Regions from separate parts of the Homo sapiens genome. Here regions 1, 2, 3 and 5 are each linked to region 4. The links are contacts of gene promoters, found by promoter capture Hi-C in blood cells and fetal thymus (Javierre and others, 2016). All regions are on one chromosome and are shown on one strand. The core of a region is centred on a gene start or on the middle of the fragment in contact, and the rest is flanking DNA. Distances in the headings are between cores, read along the strand shown. Region 1 overlaps GNA14 (G protein subunit alpha 14). Region 2 overlaps VPS13A (vacuolar protein sorting 13 homolog A). Region 3 overlaps GNA14 (G protein subunit alpha 14). Region 4 holds the start of CEP78 (centrosomal protein 78). Region 5 has its middle 26 kb from the start of GNA14.

Region 1 (3,923 bases), core at 1,204-3,703, 780 kb before region 4:
ATTTACAAAATGGGATACACCAAAGCAAGATGAGGGGGCTGGCTCTGCCTGTGACTACACACTTCTGTTCCCTGGGGCTTGTGGTCAGCCCCAGCAAAACATCAAGTGCTCAGCCTTACCCATGCACAGGAGGCTCTTAATAAAGGGCAGAGACCGTAATCCTCATCTTCATCCATCTCCCTCTGACCTTCTTAAGTGCCTGGGGGCTTACATGCCGCATCAAAGGAATGAAGAAATCTTGCCGATTCTCATCATTCATGATTCCATATTTGTGAATTCACCTACTTGCTAAAAGCTACTTGTCACCTCCAAATCAAACTGACGGCACTTTCACAGTCATTCTCCAACGTGTACAGAGCAGCAAAAAAAATCTAAGTCACCTGATGCAAATGTTTCCATCTGAGATCGAACAAGCTCTGGTGCTGTTAAAATTATTCTTCCTATGGTCTATCTAGTGGCCCGTGTAATTTTCATCCTTTTTTTGGTGGCGATTTTGCTAAGATAGCACTTGATATGGTTTGGCTGTGTCCTCACCCTAATCACATCTTGAACTGTAGCTCCCTTAATCCCCATGTGTCGTGGGAGGGAACTGATGGGAAGTAATTGAATCATGGGGGTGGGTTTTTCCCGTGCTGTTCTCTTGATAGTGAATAAGGCTCACAAGATCTGACGGTTTTATAAAGGGCATTTCCCCTGCACACACTGTCTTGCCTGCTGCCATGTAAGACATGCCTTTGCTCCTTCTTCCCCTTCCACCATGATTGTGAGGCCTCCCCAGCCACATGGAACTGTGAGTCCATTAAACCTCTCTCCTCTATAAATTACCCAGTCTTGGGTTTGTCCTTATAGCAGCATGAGAACAGACTAATACGGCATCTGAGTATAGTGTGACCATAAGAATGTGACGGCCCTATGGGGAACATACGTGTGTCAGACTAGCTTCCTTCAAGAGGACTCAAGATATAATCTCAGCTCATCCCCTAGTAGGGAGCTTTCGATGAATTTATCTGACCCTAAGCCCTCAGTTTCCTCATTGGTAAAATGAGGAGGGGAGGTGGGGGTGGTCTTTTCAACATTAGCAGTCTCTAGCTAAAGAACGTATTTTTTAATTATAAAGCTTCATAAATATTTGTTGTTGTGGACATTCTTTTTTCAAAGTATAAAGGCAAACACAGCCACTGTAGTCACTCTTTTTAGAGTGCTCTAAAGCAATCATTGTAACTATACTTAGCTGAGGATGTAAAGGAATGCCACTATTGATAAAGAGGTCTGTTCCTGGGATCCAGGGTGAGGCTATTCTAGGATGGCCCTGAAAATCTTGAGGATGACCAATGTGTAGGTCCGTCTCTCTTCTGTGAATCACACATCCTCAAAATAACCAGGAAGACAGCCTCAAAGGCAGTTATCCCCAAAAGATAATATTGCCCCAAACTTTTTTCTCCCTTGTCACACACATGTTCATTAGTCACCCTGGGACTCTGGACCACAGGTTTTTCCAGCTTGGGTGGACAAGCCAACGTGCAGCAAAGCTGCTCAGCCACTCTCCCAAGCAAGAACCCGAGATTCTTTGTTGTAATCAGGTGCATAAGGAAACCTGTTGGGGTCAGTGCAAAGTGTCTCTCTCCTCAAGCATCTCAAAGTTACACAGACATTTAACCAAGTCTCCTATTTCCTGTCAAAAAATCCCAACCGAGCAACCAGACGAGCACAGGTAGGTGGTGAGTGACAGATATTTGTGCAAAAATTAGATGTGGTCTCGTGAAGTCCCCACAGCCCAGGAACATTTCACTCAATCTAGTGATGTCCATGCTCACTATGTGCTGGTCTCACACCGCATCCCAGGGGAAGCGGATATAACTCCACAGAGGCTGACTTGAGAGACACGATCCAGTAAGAGGCTGGACTGCTTGATCCAGAACCCCGTAGAAATACACTGGTCCTGTCAGCAGGTCTGAGATAGACGTGTAGCCAAGTGACAAGCTCCAGTACAGCCTTAGGATTCACCAAAGTCACCCCTACTCATGTGACGTGTGAGGCAGACAGATTTGCCTTTAAGTAGCAACAAAGAATATCTGCACTCCAGATCTTGGTGGAGAATTTAGTCTCTCTGCCGCCTAACTCTTACCAAATTTTGAAACAAATGGTATCTATGGATGATTTTCCTGAAGTACATTCAGTCCAGCGATGCCTTTATAAGCATTTTCCAGAGTGGTACATTAAACAAAACACTACTCTACAAAACGTGGTACATATCCTTAAAAAAAAGTTCCTTGATCAAATTAGTTTAGGACAAAGTCTGAAAAAGTTACCCAAGTTTTCTAGTTAACTGCAGAACTGCACACAAGTGTGTGTGTGTGTGTGTGTGTATGTGCATGTGTATGTGTGTGTGTGGTGTGTATGTGTATGTGTGTGTATGTATATGTGTGCGGTGTGTGTGTTTGTGTTTGTGTGTGTGTCTGTGTGGTACATGTACCCCTTAGGGCAGGGATCTGCTGTGGTCTGAAAGTTTGTGTCTCTCCAAAATCCATACGTTGAACTCTCATCCCCAACGTGGAGGTATTAAGGAGTGGGGCTTCTGAGTGGGGACTAGGTCATGAAGGTGGAGTCCTCATGAATGACTTTGTGCCCTTTTAAAAGAGGTCTGAGCTGGGCACATTGGTTCATGCCTGTAAGCCCAAGGACACAGGAGGCTGAGGCAGGAGGACTGCTTGACGCCAGGAGTTCAAGACCAGCCTGGACAACATAGCGACATTCCCTCATCCCTAAAAACAAATAAACAAACAAGTAACCAGCCGGGTGGTGTGTGTACCTGCAGTCCCAGCTACTTGAGAGGCTGAGGCAGGAGGATGGCGTCAGCCCAAGAGTTCGAGGTTACAGTGAGCCATGATTGCACCACTGCACTCTAGCCTGGGTGACAGAGCAAGACCCTGTTCCTGAAAAAATAAAAAATAAAAATAAAAAGAGGCCTGAGGGAGCTTGTGTGTCCCTTCCGCCATGCGAAGACACCAAGAAGATGCCATCTCTGAGGAGCAGACTCTCACCAGACAGCACATCTGCTAGTGCCTTCATCTTAGACTTCTGCAGACTTCCCAATCCCCAGAACTGTGAGCAGTAAACGCTACTCTTTATAAATTACCCAGCCTAAGGTATTCTGTTATAGCAGCCTGAATAGACTAAGACAGATATTAGTCTCTTTTCTTCATTAATGTACTCCCACGTGCCTAGAATGGTGGTTCGCACATCAATATTCTTTGAATGAATAAATGAATCTTACCTGAAAATCTTTACATTCAATAAATACTGACAAAATACAATGAAGTCAAGGAGCAATATGCATTAACAAAATGCAACAGTTCATGAAAATGTGTAACTATGCGCACCAAACTCTTAACCATTCAGTCACTTAGAAAGATAATCCACATGTGTATGGCTTAAAAACAACAGCAAGAACAGCCCTGAAGCTACAACAGGATTCCTTCAACAAATGCAGCATTTAGTGAGAATTTATGGAACTGAGCAAACCTGAGCAATCATAAGCCTGCAGCCACCACAACAAATACAGCAACATGGAGTGGGGAGGCCCGAACACAGCACAGAGCTTTTGATATGCTAGTTTTATTATGAGTTTCCAAAGAGCAGCTTTACGATACACTACTTGCCAAATACATATAGTTCAATGGCAACTGGGGATCCATTTTCTCACAGGATAAAACTGCTCAGACTCCAGCCGATTCCATAGCTTGTAAAAGTCAGAAGTCTTGCTGCAGTTTCTGCTAATGCTCAGAAGTGAAAGCTTCATGATTCAGTATCTCTTCTCATTTGCACAGGCACAAAGCTCAGGCTCCTCGCCCGCTCCGTGCAGCATCCGATCTCTTCAAAATCTTGGATTTCACAAGGAAGAACCGCATTGCCCAGCCTTCCAC
Region 2 (4,356 bases), core at 1,358-3,857, 820 kb before region 4:
CAGCAATTACCCGGTTTTCTAAATTGAATCATGCATCTATTTATAATTCTAATTATTTTGTAAAAGAAGACAAAATTATGAATCTTAAGTATTTGCTCCATCTTTTTCTCTGTAATGGTGGAGAGGCTGCCCATAATTCATCTCCACATGGAGCCAAGTTTAATGTTTCTAGTTCACATTTTGTACTTCTGTCATGCTTATTTCAAACTCCCTGAGTGATGGGTAAGAAATCAAACATTGCCTCAGTGGTATCAAGAGAACTTTGGTGGTGGTTTCTTCAGAATCATGAAGTTCTTTTGCCAGATAAATATTTTGATATTATTTTCCTTTTTAATATAAAGGATAGGTTTGAATTGTACTTAAAATGCATAGCATTATTAAAAACAATCTTTTAAAATATAATTTATAACATAGATTGAAGCCTCCCCTTAAGAAACCTTAAAGAAATAAGTATCCTACTCAAAAAAGGAAGTCTGTTTCAGAACTTTAGGGCCTTTGAAATATTTCCTCAAGCCTATTTCATGAGATCTACTTGGTTTACCCAAGTCATGTTTTTAATAGACTGCTAATATCAAAGGAGAATTTTTAAAGCCTTAACAATGCCTACTTTCCATTCACTGTTAACATGGAATAAACACAATTCCCAACATCTTAGATAGTGTATTATGCTTCCAACAGACAGTCCCTCTCATATAAAGTTTATGTACCCTAAAATCTAACCCAATAACCTGTCCCGTTGCCAATAGATTGAGAATTTCTGGTTTGCTTACTCTACAGTTATTCAAATGAGAGTCACGCTTTTAAATTTACAGCTCATCACAGAAATCATCAGCTATACATTAGTAAAAATAAGGACATGAGGTTTTCTTTCTTGGTTTTTGTCCAAGATCTTTGCACCTTAATATTAATGGACTGTTTCAGGTAAAAGAGAATGAATGTATGATTGTGAACTGTGAAGAGAATGATGCAGGATCCTATTTAGTTACTGAATAATACAGAGTATTCAATGCATGTTGTATGTGCCACCAAGTTACTATTAACTGTTTTTGGAATTGAAGACTCTGTATAGTCAATAGTTGTGAAATTCTTCTCAGGCTCCTTAAACCCTCGCTTTGTTGTAAAAGCTAAAATAAACAGCATGCTATATTGTAATTGTATTTCTTGCTGACCAAATCTACTAAATGCTATTGATTTCTCTCTGATTACTAAAACACATTGTTTATTCTCAGTAGTTTCCCCCAAAATGCTTTTTTCTTTGCTGAACTTAAATTGAATCAAACCACAAGTTTAAAATCACATGAAAGTGTGTTTCCATGTTGACCTTTGTTTAAAAAAAAAAAAAAGTGCTTATTTTCTCTGTCGCTAAGCTCCTCCAGTTTTGCTTTTGTCAGAATTAAACTTAACAGTAGAGGTAGTCAGAAAGCTTGCATCAGACTGTCCTCATCCAAAACGAAATACTTCATTACCCAATGTTATGATTTCACCATTCTCAGAAAAATTACAGTCCCCTGCCTCCCTGGGTGTAGTGTCGTGAAGTAGAAAAGCCTTACATAAATAGTAAACATAGAAATTCTTCTGGTGCCCTCTGGCAGCCAGCAGGAGTGGGTCTTGTGACTAATCCACATGGAAAGGATAGTGCCTGTCTTTCCTGTTCCCTTGCCATAAGAACCGTGAAATCTCTCCTTTCCCTGCCACTCGTTTACTCATCACCTCCTCCCATCACTTCCTTGTCTCTAGACTAGAGGGACCCACAGTTTTAAGAGCTACATCATATCATTTGTTGTTTTAGAAGATTGTCTTCATCTAAACAAAAACACTAAGAAATCAGTAGATCACTAGATAATGAGTCAGTGTTTTTAGCATCACATTTTACAATTTACAGTTTTTGTTTGATTCTGTAGCCCATTTTTCTTGAAGGTTAGAATAAGAATCTTCTTGTATTTGAAAACCATCTGCCCTAAATTACATTTAACTACAAGAAATGGCTCTCTGCTGGAGAAATTTAAGCTTGTCTTAGTTGTTTGGTAGTGGCTATGGAATGAGAGGTGTTGAGTCTTGTGCCCCTTCCATGTATTATTTGCTAACTAACTATATTACTAGGCCCTTAATTCCAGCACAGCATGTCTTCTGGTCTATGATAATTGTGTGAGGACTAAGGCAGAGTGCCTGTTCCCTGCCAACTCTCCACCAGAAAATCATAATCAGAAAGAGTGACTTTGATTTCTGGTACTTGTGATCAAAAGCAGCTTGTGATTTCTTCACATTTGCAAAATACTCTCTGAGCCAAAAGGCACATACAGTTCTCCAGTGTCTTCCCTTTTAGAGTATACATATTTGCTGCTTTTCCTTTAGTGTTCACAAAAATCCCAAGGTCAGTTTAGTGTGGCTGAGTTGTTGTTATCTGGACCCTAAACAATCATTACCACCTGTAGACAGTTCTTACCTACCCCTCTCCTCCACAATCCTAGTCCATTTGGAGGCAACTATCCTGTGGCCTCCAAGTGAATAAATCTTTCTTACACTTACTTACGTGATATTTTCTATCATAATTATCTCTCTCATTTCTTCCAATAGTAATAGCGGTAATATTGTTCCATTGAATATCTATGCACCTAGCTCATCTCTTAGAAACATCCCACATAGTAGCATCGTATTACTCTCTGGTAAAAAGAAAGATTAAATTAAAAGGACTCTACACAGTGCTGAATTTCCTGCACCTAAATTATTCAGTTATCACTTGCCAGTATTAGTTGATCCTTCAGGCTATGCCAAGTGCCCCCTCATGTAGGCCTCTGTATTAAAAAGATTGGGACAAAATACTTGATTAGTTTGCCTGTAGAAGCTCAAAGTGTGTACCAAATACATTGACAGTGGATGCTTTCATGGCTCAGCCAACACAGTTCAGAGGAATCTTTTCGGCTTCCAGGGCATTGCTTGTTACCTTTTGTCAGGATCAACCCAAATCCTCAGGGATGCTGTTTTTCCACACTGTAAGTCCTAACTCATTAGTGGGTCATGAAATCAACTTAACAGCTCAAGACCAGTATATTTTAAACGTGAAATAATAAAAAATAGAGGAACAATAGAGCATATAAAATGGTTAAGTATTGGTTCCTGAAATACTGTTTCAGCTAAATATTCTATTTACTGTGTATACTGGGTCACAATATAAAGTGTTTCCTGTTATGAAATGCAATTTAAAAAAAGAAAGCTTGAAAGACTGCTGCAGGAGGCACCGGCCATCCAGTGATTGTTGGAAGAGTCTGGATTGTGTGGAGCCTGACCTTAGATAAGGAGCAGCAGATCCACAACTCAGGAAGTCTAGAGATGCTTAGCACTTCTTCTTTTGAGTGAGAAGATGGAATCACTCTTGGTTTCTAAAATATTTTTCTTCTCTGCTGTGTATCGGGCAACCTCACATGATTCAGTGGGACCAGAAAAAGCATAGAAAAATTAGATCCACACACAGCACCCAAAAAAGGCCATAGTCTTTTGTTTACCTAGATGTATTTTAACCTCTTTACCACTAAGCATTTTACTATAATAGAACTGGGGACATACATTGTCCTTTTGAGTCCGTTGAATCTGCACCATCTACCTTTTGGCTGATTCACCATACAGGTGGCAAAGGCCTTTAAAAATGGGGAGCTAATACGTAGGGCACATTCTGGTAGGGCCAAAATATTCAGTGTCTGGGGGGTGCTATGCAAATATCAATGACTTTTTACTAAAAACAGTGGATTTCCTCATTTCTTTAAGATCCAAGTAGAAAATGTAAATAACTTACATTCTGTATGCAGGACTCAATACAGACTTAGTCAATCTGATTTTTTTTGGTGCTTTTCAGTATAGCGCAACTCTAAAAGGAAACCCATTCACCCTCCTTAGTCCTTTGAAGTATACTTTTGAAATTATACCTTATTGTTAATGGCAACCTAATCAAGCTAGGATTTGTCGGTTAAAATTTTGATTCTTGTAATCTGTACTGTCAATTTTTGGCCACTCTGGCTGTTACAGCAAACTTTTCTCCCACTGTCATAATTGGTCTAAAGTAGTATTTGTTTCAGGACTATCCAAAAAGCAAGGCCAGCACATTGAGAAGATGCAGAATCCTACTCTATTACAAACCTCACTCATGTTTCTTTTATTGAAACCTTTTTCTACTTTATATTTCCTCTTTTGTAAATTTTTCCATGTCATTTAAAAAATTTTTTACTTTAGAATTACAGATTAGTTCTTTTTTTAAAGCATTATGGCATTTTCAAAAAAAAAATTATTTTGGTTACCCAAAAAGCTATACAAGAAATATAACTTCAATTTTTTAGGTTGATATGGGTATATTTTTAAAGTTTTTAT
Region 3 (4,201 bases), core at 604-3,103, 800 kb before region 4:
AAGCCCATTGAAACCACAGGAGGTGACACTTCTGGCTTTCTTTCCTGCCCAATGCCTTGTCCAGCTCAATGCCTGCTCAGAGGGTGACAGTGGCACCCAAAGGGAAGGAGGTACGTCTGGGGAAGGGATTTCTGAGCCCTCAGAGGATGGAAGATGATACGGGACAGGTGTGAAAGAGCTGAGCTGCAGAAGCAGGAGTTATTGCCACTTTAAGAAGGACCCATATCAAACTATTTACCCGGTGACCAGACTGAGGAGGCATTGCCCCGGGATATTATTATTTATTTATTTATTTACATTTTCTTTTTTTTTGAGACAGAGTCTCACTCTGTCACTCAGGCTGTACTGCAGGAGTGTAATCATGGCTCATTGCAACCTCAACCTCCTAGGCTCAAGACATCCTCCCGCCTCAGCCTCCCGAGCAGCTGCCCAGCTAATTTTTGTAATTTTTGCAGAGACGAGGTCTTGCTCTGCTGCCCAGGCTAGTCTCGAATTCCTGGTTTCAAGCGATCCTCCCACCTCTGCCTCCCAAGTCCCTGGGATTACAGATGTGAACAGGAAATGCCCAAGAAAGTGAAAATCTGTCATCTCTATGGGACAGTTTGCATGCTGGGACATCTAAATAGAAATCTTTTTACCTTCAAGGATTAATGAATTAAAAATTGAGCTGTATGGATCCAAAATACAGTGTGTAGGCCTTCGCAGGCAGCCAATAAACAAAGGATTGAGCTTCCTGTGTGTGCTGCGAGCGCAGCCTCCTATCTGTGCCACTAGAGGACAGCACCAGATCAGCAGCTGATGGGTCCACGGCCCCGCTGCTCTAAACTTGACTTTAGATTTTAGCGCAATTGGACCTGCTGTCTTCTGATGGGGAAACCAGAAAGGCAGAGGGATATAGAGAGGAGGAAAGTAGAAGCCAAAAGCAAGGGTATTTCTTGTTTAAATCAGATAATTTCAGCACTCCTAAGGAGATCAGTCCCACTTAAGGGACCTCAGATTTGATTTGAGTCTCTCATTGAAAACGACAGGCTTAGAACACAGCAAGAGCAGGCGGGTGTCGGCAGGAAGAGAGGTCTGCGATCCACAGAGTGACCGAGGGCTTTAGGAGGTGGTGAGAGATGGCACTAAGAGGTCAGGAGGGATATGGGAAAGCAAAGGCAAGTAGCGCTGCCACTGTGCACCGCATTTCAGCAGCGTTCAGCGAGAAACTTCTTTGAAGTGTGGCCGAGCTTGCCTGAAAGCACCGCGGGCGGCCAGGGTGGGCTCTGTACTCACTATTTGGCAGAGTCCGACAGCTGGTACTCCCTCCTCCTGTCGTAACACTCCTGGATGCCTGGATCTTGCCAGAGCTGCTTGATGGCCTCCACCTGCTCCCTGGAGAGCATGGAGACCTTGTCCACTTCCACTTCTCTGATTATCTGGGCATTTTCCTACTCAAAGGAAAGAGAACCTTGCATCAGGCAAAGGAAAGGAAGCCAACCCATTGGCAATGTCGGTACAAGTCTTGCCCTGGTCTGTGGATTTGGAGAGCTCTCACTAGGCATGGGGCGTGGTGGGCACCCTCCCAGGGGCCGCTCACAGCCAAGACACCCACTGCAGCCATGCTGAGTGGAGATGAGGTGGCTGCTTAGCTCCGTGGAGAGAGCCACCAGCAGCCCAAGACCTGCAGCTTCTGTGCCCAGCCATGTCCTGGGCCAGTTTCGCCAGCATTCAACAACACCCAGTGGTGAATAAAGAGTCACTGGAGCTTTCATCCTACCAGCAAACTTTACTTCTTCATTAACATATGACTCATTTGAGTATCTGCATAGCCAATGAGGCCATTTAAAAATGGCACACCAAGGTTTGGGTGGTAGAAACTGGTCCACCTGGTACAGGCAATAAGGAGGCGCCTTGTCTTTAGAGAAGTGAAACACAATAACAACTTATCATCAGTCTGGGATTTTGTTCTTTCATTTAAAAAAAAAAAAAAAAAAAAAACACTGGCCAGCTGCGGTGGTTCATGCCTGTAATCCCAGCACTTTGGGAGGCCGAGGCGGGCCGATCACAAGGTCAAAAGTTCAAGACCAGCCTGGCCAACATGGTGAAACCCCATCTCTACTAAAAACACAAAAATTAGCTGGGCATGGCGGCGCGTGCCTGTAATCCCAGCTACTCAGGAGGCTGAGGCAGGAGAATCGCTTGAACCCAGAAGGTGGAGGTTGCAGTGAGCCGAGATGGTGCCAAGGCACTCCAGCCTGGGTGACAGAGCGAGACTCTGTCTCCAAAAAAAAAAATATATTAATAATAATTGACTTTACTTTTTAGAGCAGTTTTAGCTTGCCAGCAAAATTGTAGGGCAAGTACAGCGCATTCTCACACAGTCTGCTTTTCATTTTCTTGCATCACTGATACAACTCTTTCCCACTGGGAGCCTCCCTCCCAATGCACTACTCTCCCCACACCACTGATTATTATATTACCATATTTATTATTACTATGATTATTAAATAATTATTGCTCTATTACTACAGTAATTAAGGCCATTATTACTGTAATTATTACTATTACAGCGGTTACCATTTATTGGCTATGTACTATGTGCCAAGGCCTCTACATACATTATCTCATTTAATCAATGGGAGGCTAGCATGAGCCAGAAATCTTTCCAAACCTCAGAAAATGGAAAAGATAAGGTTGGCCTGCAGCCACAACATTTCCCCGTGTTGGCCCCAGAGACTCAGCATCCTTTCCTTGGCTGCAAGTTGTAGCAGACAAGTGAATCCTGGCAAGAGAAGCAGGACCCCAGGCTCTTATTCCCCCTCCCATATTTCTGCATCCCACAGCAGTTACATCACCAAGCAGGGCTGGCTACAGCAGCAGCTGTGAGTCAGCAAACCATCTGCTTGGTAGCTGGGATCTCAAGTGTAGACGGTACCTCCTGAAAAGTCACTTTTATTGTGCGTTGTTCATCCTTATAATTATCCAACAGCAAGCCAGAGAAAAGGAGGATCTTACACATCCACCTGGCTCATCCTAACCAAGGACTGTGAATGAATCGATGTGACTTTTCCCCACACCTGTCAGGAAAGTGAATGTAAACTCTTCCTGGAGACTGTAGGACCTTCAGGCAGGTAGGATCTCAAACAAGGTCCAGGCAGGATGGATTACTGGAAAGTGCGCTGGCCTGGGAATCAGGACCCTGAGTTCTAAACAGTGTAGTTGGGACTTTTAAGGACCCCAACAAGTTACCTGCCTCAGTGTCCTCATTTGTAAAACGAGCCATGATTTCCAGGGGTACCTGAATTATAAAGTGTTACTTATATGTAAGTAGAATTAGCCTTTACTATTGTAGCAGATGTCTAATAAGTATTTCTTGTTTGCAAAAACAGGACACATCAGTAGCCTCTAAACCCTGACTTCTAATCCCACCACTGGCATGCTGCATGTCACGGACCCTATTCTTGGCTGGCGAGAATGATGGATGGAGAACCTGGACAGTGTTTATCCAGTGTGGTGCAGAACAGCTCTCTCCCATGTCCTCCCCTCCTCTCGCCACGCTCTTGCTTTCCCAAATAGGTCAGTTGTGCTGAGCTCTACTCTCTCAATGTAAAATGTCTGTTTTCCTCTCTGTCTTCATGGCAGGCCAGGAAATGTCATGAGGGCAGAACCAATGTCTTATTTGTTCTTATATCCCAGAACCTAGTGCAGTGCCTTCTATTGCAAATAATAGGTGTCTTCTATGGATAGGCGCATTCAGTAAACATCTGTGGTGCATGTAAAATCCACCTACCTAACAAGACAGAAAATTATGACAAAATAAGAGTGAAAGCATACTAGGGTGGGAAGACGGAAGCCCGTGCAGGTCACAGTGGGAGCACACACGGAGCAGGTCAGGGCCTCCTCTCAGAGGAGGAGATGCTCAGGCAACGCTTGGCCAATCTGTAATTCCAACTTGGGCCCTGGTGGCCCTCAGCATCCTTGCTTCTTGTGGGCATGCCTCTTTTGCTGCTATGCTAAGTTTCACTGTCAAAATCAGGTTAACGGCTGAGCTTTAGTGCTGCGACAATCATCAGGGCTGTAACAAATGCATTTCTATCTCTCCTTCTCACAAACAAAATGTAGGAATGAACTTCAGGGTGAATGAAATGTGAGCGGAAATCACTTGTCTCTTTTGAAAATAAACATTACGGCCAAGTGCAGTGGCTCACGCCTGTAATCC
Region 4 (4,176 bases), core at 1,300-3,799:
CACTAAAAATAAGTAAGCACAGGAAACATAAATTTTAAATGAATATGTTAAATGATTATTAATATGAGGAAGACTTCTCTGAGCTGCATTCATAGGCAGTGGCTACAGGGTGCTGGCAATAGCTTGCGGGGATAATAGGGAAGAATGTTCCTACAATTAGTCATTAGTTAGCACTTTCTCTGTGCTAACACTGTGCTAGGCATAGGGAATGTAAGCATGAATGAGACATGGTTCTTGCCTTCAAAGGGCTTTCAGACTCTGGAAGGAAAACCATCTAAAAAGATGTTTATCATTGGATGTTCTAAGTGTTATGCTACAGGGATGTCAGGGAGCACAGCAGTGAGGTGCTAAACAAGCAAGGGAGGAGAGATGAGGGTTAGAGAGAAACAGGCTTTCTAGGGAAGGTGCCCCAAACCAAGGCTGGGAAAAGAATGGAAGTTAGCCGACTAAATAAAGGAGCAGCCTATGAAAAGACCCAGACAGCAACAATAGGACATCAGAAAGTTCAAGCAGTTCTGTGTATCTAGAGAAGACATGCCAGGAAGAATGTAGCAAGGAGAGAGACAACAGAGATAGTCAAATTATGAAGGAGCTTGTATGTCAAGCTACGTGACATAGATCTGACACTGAGGGCAGTGAGAAATCTTGGCTTTCTAGGGGGCAATTTAATGGATGAAGAGATCTATCTGTGTTAGAAGTAATCTGCCTAGAGTGGGGAAGTTAAGGCTGAGCAGAAGACAAGAACACCCAGAGAAACTGTAAAATGTCAGAAGGGGTGAAAGCTGAGGGTAGAAACCTGACGAACAGCAATATTTAGAGTGGATATGCAAGAGAAGCCAAAGAATGAGACTGAGAAGAAGAAATTCGAGAGGTAAAGAAAAAGAAATCAGGTGGCTTCATGGGAAACAGGGAGGAGGGAGCTTTAAAAAGGTAATGGACACTACATTAATTGATGCTGGAGACTAGAAAGAAAATGGATAGAGCAACAAAGAAATCGTAAAGTTGGAAACAATTTAAATTACCATCAACAGAAAAACAGACACATTACTGTATGTTTCTACATGGAACTCCCATATAACAACAGGGAAAATAAATGAATATCTCTATATGTCAACACGGATGGACCTAGTAAAGGTAACGATAAGTAAAGTAGGAAAAGAAAATATAGAATGTTATATACTGCTTACTTACATATGTAGCAGAAATATAAAGACATACATTGCAACGATGAATACCAAGTTCAGAAGAGCAGTTATCTCAGAGTCAGAGAGTAGTCGTGATTGGGAAGGTGGTTACACAAAGCTCTTCAACAGGAATGGTAATGTTTCATTTATTAAGCTGGTTTATGAATATACAAGCGTTTACTATATTAAGATTTGAGCATGTCGCACATAAAAATAATTGGTGACCATATCTCCGGAATTTTAGAGACGCCTGCATATGTGTGTTGGAAGTAAGTTGGAGTATCCGGAATGCAGTGGGTGGAACAGGAATGCAATAAACACAATGTCTAAGGCTCTACCGGAGGACTATCATTGCTCTAGCAATTGCATACCAATAGAAGGAGAGGTCAATTATCTGGATTCTTCCACTTAGCTTCCACTTAACTTCCCCGTTCCTCAGTTTCCCCTTTTGTAAAGTAGAATATAATAGTATATTCCTTGAGATGTTAGGAGAATGAAATGATTTCATACTTAAACATTGCTTAAAATAATCCCGAGGACATTATTTCAAATAAGTACTAGTTACAAGGGAGTTAGCCAACATCATCGTCAGTACAAAACAAACTGATTCACAGCAAACACAATAAAGTCCTGAATTCATGAAACACTCTTCAATTTGCCAGGAACCGTGTGAGATATGCAGAAACTACAGAAATTAAGGCTTATTTGTAGATATTAACACAGACATAAAAGATTTAATGACCGCAGTTCACGTTCAATCAGCCGTTCCCACATCCCTTGAGTGCAGTCTCTGTGCTGGCTGGACACTGCAAGCACAGACACATTCCTCAGATGTTTAGACTTTTTTTAAAAGTGCGTTGTTACATCCACATTTCACTTTTTATTTTCTTTCTTTTTTTGAGACGGAGTTTCGCTCTTGTCGCCCAGGCTGGAGTGCAATGGCAAGATCTCGGCTCACTGCAGCCTCCGCCTCCCGGGTTCTAGCGATTTTCCTTCCTCAGCTGGGATTACAGGCGAGTAGCTGGGATTACAGGCGCCCGCCACCATGCCCGGCTAATGTTTGTATTTTTAATTGAGACGGGGTTTCGCCATGTTGGCCAGGCTGGTCTCGAACTCCTGACCCCAGGTGATCCGCTCGCCCCCGCCTCACACAGTGCTGGGATTACAGGCGTGGGCCACCGCGCCCGACCACACATTTCACTTTTATTCGGATCGATCAGTAAACTCTTTCGCAAACCCTCAAACTCTCCCGACCACTATCTCAGGTAGCAGCGAACTCACCCGTCCTCAGGAGGCGGGACCTGCGTGCCGACGCACAGCGAGCACGTTGACGTCTTGGCGCACCGTTCCACGGCACCGCCCACCGGCTTGAATCCCGGCGCCTCAGAGGACTATGAGGCGGGCGCCAACTGCTTGGGCCGCAGGGCGGGAGGCAGCGCGGGAGTGGGGCGTTGAGGGGCCGGCCTAGCTTGGGGCTCTGGCCTTGCGTCTTCCGACCGAATCACCGCTCCTGAGCCCGGTGCGGGGCTGCCGCTATCGCCTGGCCGTGGGTGCCGGAGCGGCCGGGTTGCGACTCAGCGTTCTTGGGTGGGCGCGGGCGGCGTCTCCGCGGCGGGCATCCCCCGAGGCCGCCCTCGGGCCATGATCGACTCCGTGAAGCTGCGCCGCGACAGCGCGGCGGACTTCTTCTCCCACTACGAGTACCTGTGCGCGCTGCAGAACTCGGTGCCGCTGCCCGCCGTGCGCGCCTGTCTCCGGGAGGGCGTGCTGGATTTCAACGCCGACCGCCTCCGCGGGGTGGACTGGGCGCCTCTGCTGAGCACCCTCAAGATCAATAAAGACCTGCCCTTGGTCTCCATCAAGAGCTTCTTCCAGCCCTGGCTGGGGGACACAGGTTTGTAGTTCCCGCCTCCAGGGCCCCTCAGTCGGTGCGGCGAAGTGGGTTTTTAGGTGAGTGGTGTCCATTGTCGGGGTATGTGTGCAATAGAAGGGGTGTGCGGCCTGGACACTCACGAGCTAGGTGAGTGGCTTAAGGTCTCTAGGGCTTCAGTGTGCTCATCCGTAACATGGGCTTAATAACGAGACCCAGGTTATGTGCGCCTTCGCAAGGATTCCCTGCGCTGCTGATGCCTGCAGAGCTCTTAGCACAGTTTGGGACATCATTAAACATTTGACAGATGTTACCTATTTTATTGAATGACTTTGATTTGCCTGATAGAGAACTAAGCAGGTAGGAAATTAATACATGTCAGCCTTTGTCTTTTTTTTTTTTTTTTTTTTTTTTTTTTTGAGACACTGTTTCACTCTGTCGCCCAGGCTGGAATGCAGTGGCAAGATCTCGGCTCACTGCAACCTCCGCCTCCCGGGTTCAAGTGATTCTCCTGCCTCAACCTCCCGAGTAGCTGGGATTACAGGCGCGCGCCACCATGCCCGGCTAATTTTTGTATTTTTAGTAGAGATGGGGTTTCACCATGTTAGCCAGGCTGGTCTCGAACTCCTGACCTCAGGTGATCCGCCCGCTTCGGCCTTCCAAAGTGCTGGGATTACAGGCATGAGCCACCGCGCCCGGCCTGTCTTCATTTTTTAAGGTGTATATAAGAAGTTTGTAAAGTGCTTTACAAATACAAGCCATTTGTAAATGTATAGTGGTATAATTAGGGATCCAGACTCTCTGATTATTCGGAAAATATGTTAGGTCAACTATGATATATGACAAAATGCTGTTATTCCTTTGAGCACTTAGCATTTTCTACATAATGGAGGCAGCTTCCTATAGACGCTAGCTAGGTAACAGGAAGGAACAGTTTGTGCAAAAGTTTTGGAAATAGGAGAGAGTATGCAAGCTGAGTTACAGGACTGGAATTTAGGTTTGAGAAAGAGCAGAGAGAGTTGAGGCTGGAAACCTTGTGGGGGCCAAACAGGGAGGGTCCTCGTTTGTCCTGTCATAGAGTTGGATGTTTATCCTGAAGGTTTTGGGAAACCGCTGTAGGAT
Region 5 (4,416 bases), core at 948-3,447, 560 kb before region 4:
CTAGAGTGGGACCCAGGTAATAGGCATGGTTTAAGGGTGGTTCTGATTTTCCCACACTTAAAAAAAAAAAAGTAATCCCTTGATTGCACTCTCCTTGGTTAATCCATGTGAGAGCAATCTGTTTCCCATTGGAAACTTGAGTGAGACAATTGTGCTCTGGCACACTTGACCCCAAGAATCCTGACTGACATATGAGGATTTTCCAGAACTCTTCAGATTTGTGATCTCCTTTGATTCCCTCAACACCTAAGGCTGGTGGCAGAAGGCTGGACCAGGTCTCCTGCATCCCTACTAGGTGCACAGCCTCAAAGAGGGGCCCATGCAGTGCAACCACAGGCTTTGCTGTAGAAACACGTGTCAGGCCTTGGCCAGAGTCAAGGATACTCTCAGGGCTGGAAGGAGCTTTTTCATGATGGAGCCGAATACTGAGAATGGGATCCAGAGAAAATAAATGAACAAGGAAAAGCTGTTATGCATTAATGTAATCAAACTGCATGATTTATTTGCTTAATGGCTGCTGAAAAGTCGTCTGGCATTTAACCATTCCCTTCTCAAATCCTGTGTGAATCCTTTAAAATTCAACCTATGAGATAATCTAACAGAGAATCCTTTTGATTTCCACTTTGTATTTTTCATGTAAAAATAAGTTGAGGAGTAGGTGTAGCACCAGTCACAAAAGACCACATATCGTATGATTCCATTTACATGAAAAGTCCAGAATCAGCAAATCCAGAGGGACAGAAAGTAGATTCATGCTTGCCAGGGGCTGGGGGTGGGAGAATGAGAAATGACATTTAATAGATATGGGTTTCTTTGGGGAGTGATCAAATTTTCTAAGATTAGATTATGGTGATGGTTGTACAACTCTGTAAATGCTAAGTGCAGTAAATGCTAAAAACAACTGAACTGTGCACTTTCAGCAAGTAAATTTTATGCTATGTAAATGATACCTCAACAAAACTCTTCTAAAAAACACAAAGCATAGGACTGTTCTAAAAAACCATTACTGTTCTCTATTTTGTAACTCTACCTTCTCATGTTAAGAGAAAACACAGATAACTCTTATTTAATATCAACAATGTGCCAGTCGTGACACTAACATCTTTACATGCATTATATTACAGTCAGCCCTCTGTATCTAAGGGTTCCACGTTGATGGATTCAATCCATTGCAGATGGAAATTATTTGAAAAATAAATAACAATACAACAATAAAAGTAATAGAAATAAAAGAAAAAACAGAATAACAACTATTTAGAGAGAATTTACATTGTATTAGGGGTTATAAATAATCTAGAGATGATTTGAAAGTATACAAGAGAATGCCCATAGGTGATATGAAAATACTACACCATTTTATATCAGGGACTCGGGCATCTATAGATCTTGGTATCCATGGGGTGGGGGTGGGGGAGCAGTCCTAGAACCAAACTCTTAAGGACACCGAAGGAGAACTGTATTTAATTCTCCCAACAATACTGTTATATAAGTGTTATTAATTATCTCATTCTACAGATGAAGAAACTGAGGCTCCAAGGCATTATAGCACTTGGTCAACATTACACAGCTACCTAGGAGGTTGTATTGCTGGGGATCAAATTCAGACCTATCTGATCCCAAAAGCTTGGGCTTAAAAACATGGCTAATTCTTTGACAATGTGTTAGTTATTGTATGTACAGTAAAGACTGCTTACTGAAAATAGAAATGTCTTGTTTTCTGAAATACATGTCTTGGTGAAGCAGTTATTCGTTGTGTCTGCTGCAACTACTTTATCAAAGGCTTTCCTTGTGGGTAACTAGAGACTAAGGGGATGGAATGATAAAACCCCCTTCCCCACCCCAATGCCTACCAGTTTTTAAAACTCAGTTCACTTGTCTAGTGTTTTCATCTGGAAGCCAGACTGCAGACTTGTGGGTCACCTGAGCTCATGGCTCTGGGTACCCAGTCTGGATAAAATTGTGTTCTAAGGCCTTTTTTAATTGAACACTTTGTCCAGCCTCTGCCTACATTGAAGACCCTCAGAGTTTTCTCCAGTACTTCAAAGACTAGCTGAATTGGAAATCACTGGAAAGTTTCCCCTGCAGTGTACATTTAAATGTACTGGTTCTTTTTTTTTTTTCTTTCATAATGGAGACTTGGATTTACAGAATGTAACAGATACTATTTGGCAGAAAGTAAAAACTGTCTTAACTCTCCCCATATTTGGCAATACAGTTCTCTCTCTCTCTCTCTCTCTCTCTCAGCAGATTTCCAATTACACTTCATAGACGGATCTCAGCTGGTCCTTTTTTCCTGTTACATAAACTTGACAATGACTATTTGGACTATGTTTCAACCATTCTTTCTTGAACTTCAACCACCAAACACATTTAAGGAGTGAAACCCCCTGCCAAAATGCACCAGAAACTCTTTAACCCTATATAGTTATTTGCCAGGGTTGAGAAACCCACTTGACCCTTTCAGCATCAGCATTTTCATTCCTCTGTGTGTTGATTTTCAGACATTTCGGTTTTTTGAGGACAAGCTCGTTTCCTGTGCATGCCTTCAGTCTTTCCTTGCCTCACTGCTGCCAGCAATAGCAATGTAGCATCCTCTGAGAGAGAGTGAGCTGAGCCAGGAGAAAAAATGGACTTGAACAGAGAAATTCAGGAGCTATCTTTTTTTTAAAGTATCTACCTTAGTGACCCAGAAGAGGGCAGAAAGACCCAGCCAGTGTCCACCAATAGGGAAGCCTCTCAGATGCAAGCCACTCACTAGTTACTGAATAAAGAAAGCTTATGGCCGGGCGTGGTGGCTCACGCCTATAATCTCAGCACTTTGGGAGGCTAAGGCGGGTGGATCACTTGAGGTCAGGAGTTCGAGACCAGCCTGACCAACATGGTGAAGCCCTGTCTCTACTAAAAATACAAAATTAGCCGGGCGTGGTGGCGCACCCCTGTAGTTCCAGCTACTGGGGAGGCTGAGGCTGGAGAATGGCTTGAACCCGGGAGGTGGAGGTTGCAGTGAGCCGAGATCACGCCATTGCACTCCAGCCTGGGCAACAAGAGGGAAACTCTGTCTCAAAAATAAATAATAAAAAAAAAAGTTTGTTGCAGCATAGTTGCTCAGCCAAAGATTTGAGGAGTGGCATCGGGGTGGGCGGGGGGTAGGGGAGGATGGGAGCTAGGAAGTTTGAAATATTTGATATCATTGAATAACAGCGCTCTCCGCCACTTGATGACAATCAGAAACTATTCAGTATAGTGGATCTTTCCAGAGAGACCATTCATACTTACACTTCATTACTTACTCTCTAGTATGTTTCCATGTGAGCATGACTTCTTGAAAACACTATAGATACTTAACATGTACCGTGTTGTTTATCCCCTGGGATTACATGTTTCAATGAGCTAAACGAAAGCTGCTTTCGATGTAGATAAATAGGCATAAGAATATAGACCCATGGCTCTTTCGGGAGTGAAATTATTTGCAAATCGACAGTGGAGGGATTCTGAGAACAGAGTGTTTCAAACAAACTTTCCACATGATTATGTTTCCATATCTTCTCCTGGCACTGAACAAACATTTTAAATTGCCACTTGTTCACTGAGGTTGACAATAAATCCAAACAGGAATATGTTTAATATCCATATAGAATTTTCATACGAATAGCTTTTCATTGTCTGCTATTCCCATAAAGCCAAGCAAATTGGCATTTTAATATTGTTTTCTTTTCTATCATAGAAACTAAAACAAGTACCAAATAAAAGATACCAGATGATAAATATAGGAAACTAGTGGAATTACAGAATGATACAGTGCTTTTTATTTTAGAGGTGAAGAAACTGCAACTAAGAAAAGTGAGGTGATTTGCCTAAGGTCGAAAAAATCAAGACTGGCCACAGAAGGGGGCATCATATTTCATTTGATTGTGTGATTGATCACCAAATTCCCACATGGAGTGAACGTGGCCTTTTTTTAAATGCCACCTAAAGTGGATCAACACTCAAGCCAATCAATACAGGCATCCACGCAGGGCCCTTGGATAATGAAGGAAGGAAATTTTGTTCAATGTTCACAGCAAGAAGTGGGGACCAAGAAAGAAGCCTTGGCAGCACCCTCAGAGTGGCAGAGAAGGAGTAAGGAGCAGGTCAGTAGATGTCAACAAGGTCTCTGAGATCCCACATATTGGCTGTCACTTAGTCTCAAAAGATGAGTTGGTAGAAAATATAAAAAGGTCAAAGAAGCATTTAAGTTAGTGGTTCTCAACCTTGGCAGCACTTTTAAAATTATTTTGGGAAGATTTAAAACACCTGAATGACCAGGCCACAGCCCAGGCTGATTTCCTCAGTGTGTTTTCAAGATGTTCCCAATATGTATGCAAAGTTGAGAACCATGGCTCTAGATAAACCTAGTATGGGCCCATTGAAAGAATG

The links. The method cuts DNA at HindIII sites, captures the fragments that hold promoters and counts their contacts. A CHiCAGO score of 5 or more calls a contact.
Region 1: a contact is called between a fragment that was not itself captured here and the fragment with the promoter of CEP78 in region 4, in 13 of 17 cell types (naive CD4 T cells, total CD4 T cells, total B cells and 10 more). The highest score is 10.6, in naive CD4 T cells.
Region 2: a contact is called between a fragment that was not itself captured here and the fragment with the promoter of CEP78 in region 4, in 5 of 17 cell types (M2 macrophages, monocytes, total CD4 T cells and 2 more). The highest score is 7.2, in M2 macrophages.
Region 3: a contact is called between a fragment that was not itself captured here and the fragment with the promoter of CEP78 in region 4, in 4 of 17 cell types (fetal thymus, naive CD4 T cells, total CD4 T cells and 1 more). The highest score is 6.5, in fetal thymus.
Region 5: a fragment that was not itself captured here is called in contact with the fragment with the promoter of CEP78 in region 4 in 1 of 17 cell types (monocytes); the score reaches 5.3 in monocytes.

What each region holds. Positions count from the first base shown.
Region 1 is chr9:77,450,206-77,454,128 of GRCh38, forward strand. The region is part of intron 2 of GNA14 (G protein subunit alpha 14); the gene reads right to left. The region is part of intron 1 of GNA14-AS1 (GNA14 antisense RNA 1); the gene reads left to right. Among named protein-coding and RNA genes, the nearest start is that of GNA14-AS1, 4.5 kb to the left of the region's middle. The HindIII fragment of the contact is 2,676 bases long and covers 1,116-3,791 here.
Region 2 is chr9:77,416,216-77,420,571 of GRCh38, forward strand. It overlaps VPS13A (vacuolar protein sorting 13 homolog A), which reads left to right. Exons shown (of 72, transcript NM_033305.3): 72 at 1-4,356. Among named protein-coding and RNA genes, the nearest start is that of GNA14-AS1, 29 kb to the right of the region's middle. The HindIII fragment of the contact is 1,204 bases long and covers 2,006-3,209 here.
Region 3 is chr9:77,433,093-77,437,293 of GRCh38, forward strand. It overlaps GNA14 (G protein subunit alpha 14), which reads right to left. Exons shown (of 7, transcript NM_004297.4): 3 at 1,276-1,430. Among named protein-coding and RNA genes, the nearest start is that of GNA14-AS1, 12 kb to the right of the region's middle. The HindIII fragment of the contact is 6,132 bases long and covers 1-4,201 here.
Region 4 is chr9:78,233,526-78,237,701 of GRCh38, forward strand. CEP78 (centrosomal protein 78) reads left to right here and starts at 2,550. Exons shown (of 17, transcript NM_001330691.3): 1 at 2,550-3,078. The coding sequence starts at 2,826. RefSeq lists an enhancer at 2,279-2,948 and a silencer at 2,574-2,943. The HindIII fragment of the contact is 10,697 bases long and covers 1-4,176 here.
Region 5 is chr9:77,671,869-77,676,284 of GRCh38, forward strand. No RefSeq gene overlaps it. Among named protein-coding and RNA genes, the nearest start is that of GNA14, 26 kb to the left of the region's middle. The HindIII fragment of the contact is 1,152 bases long and covers 1,622-2,773 here.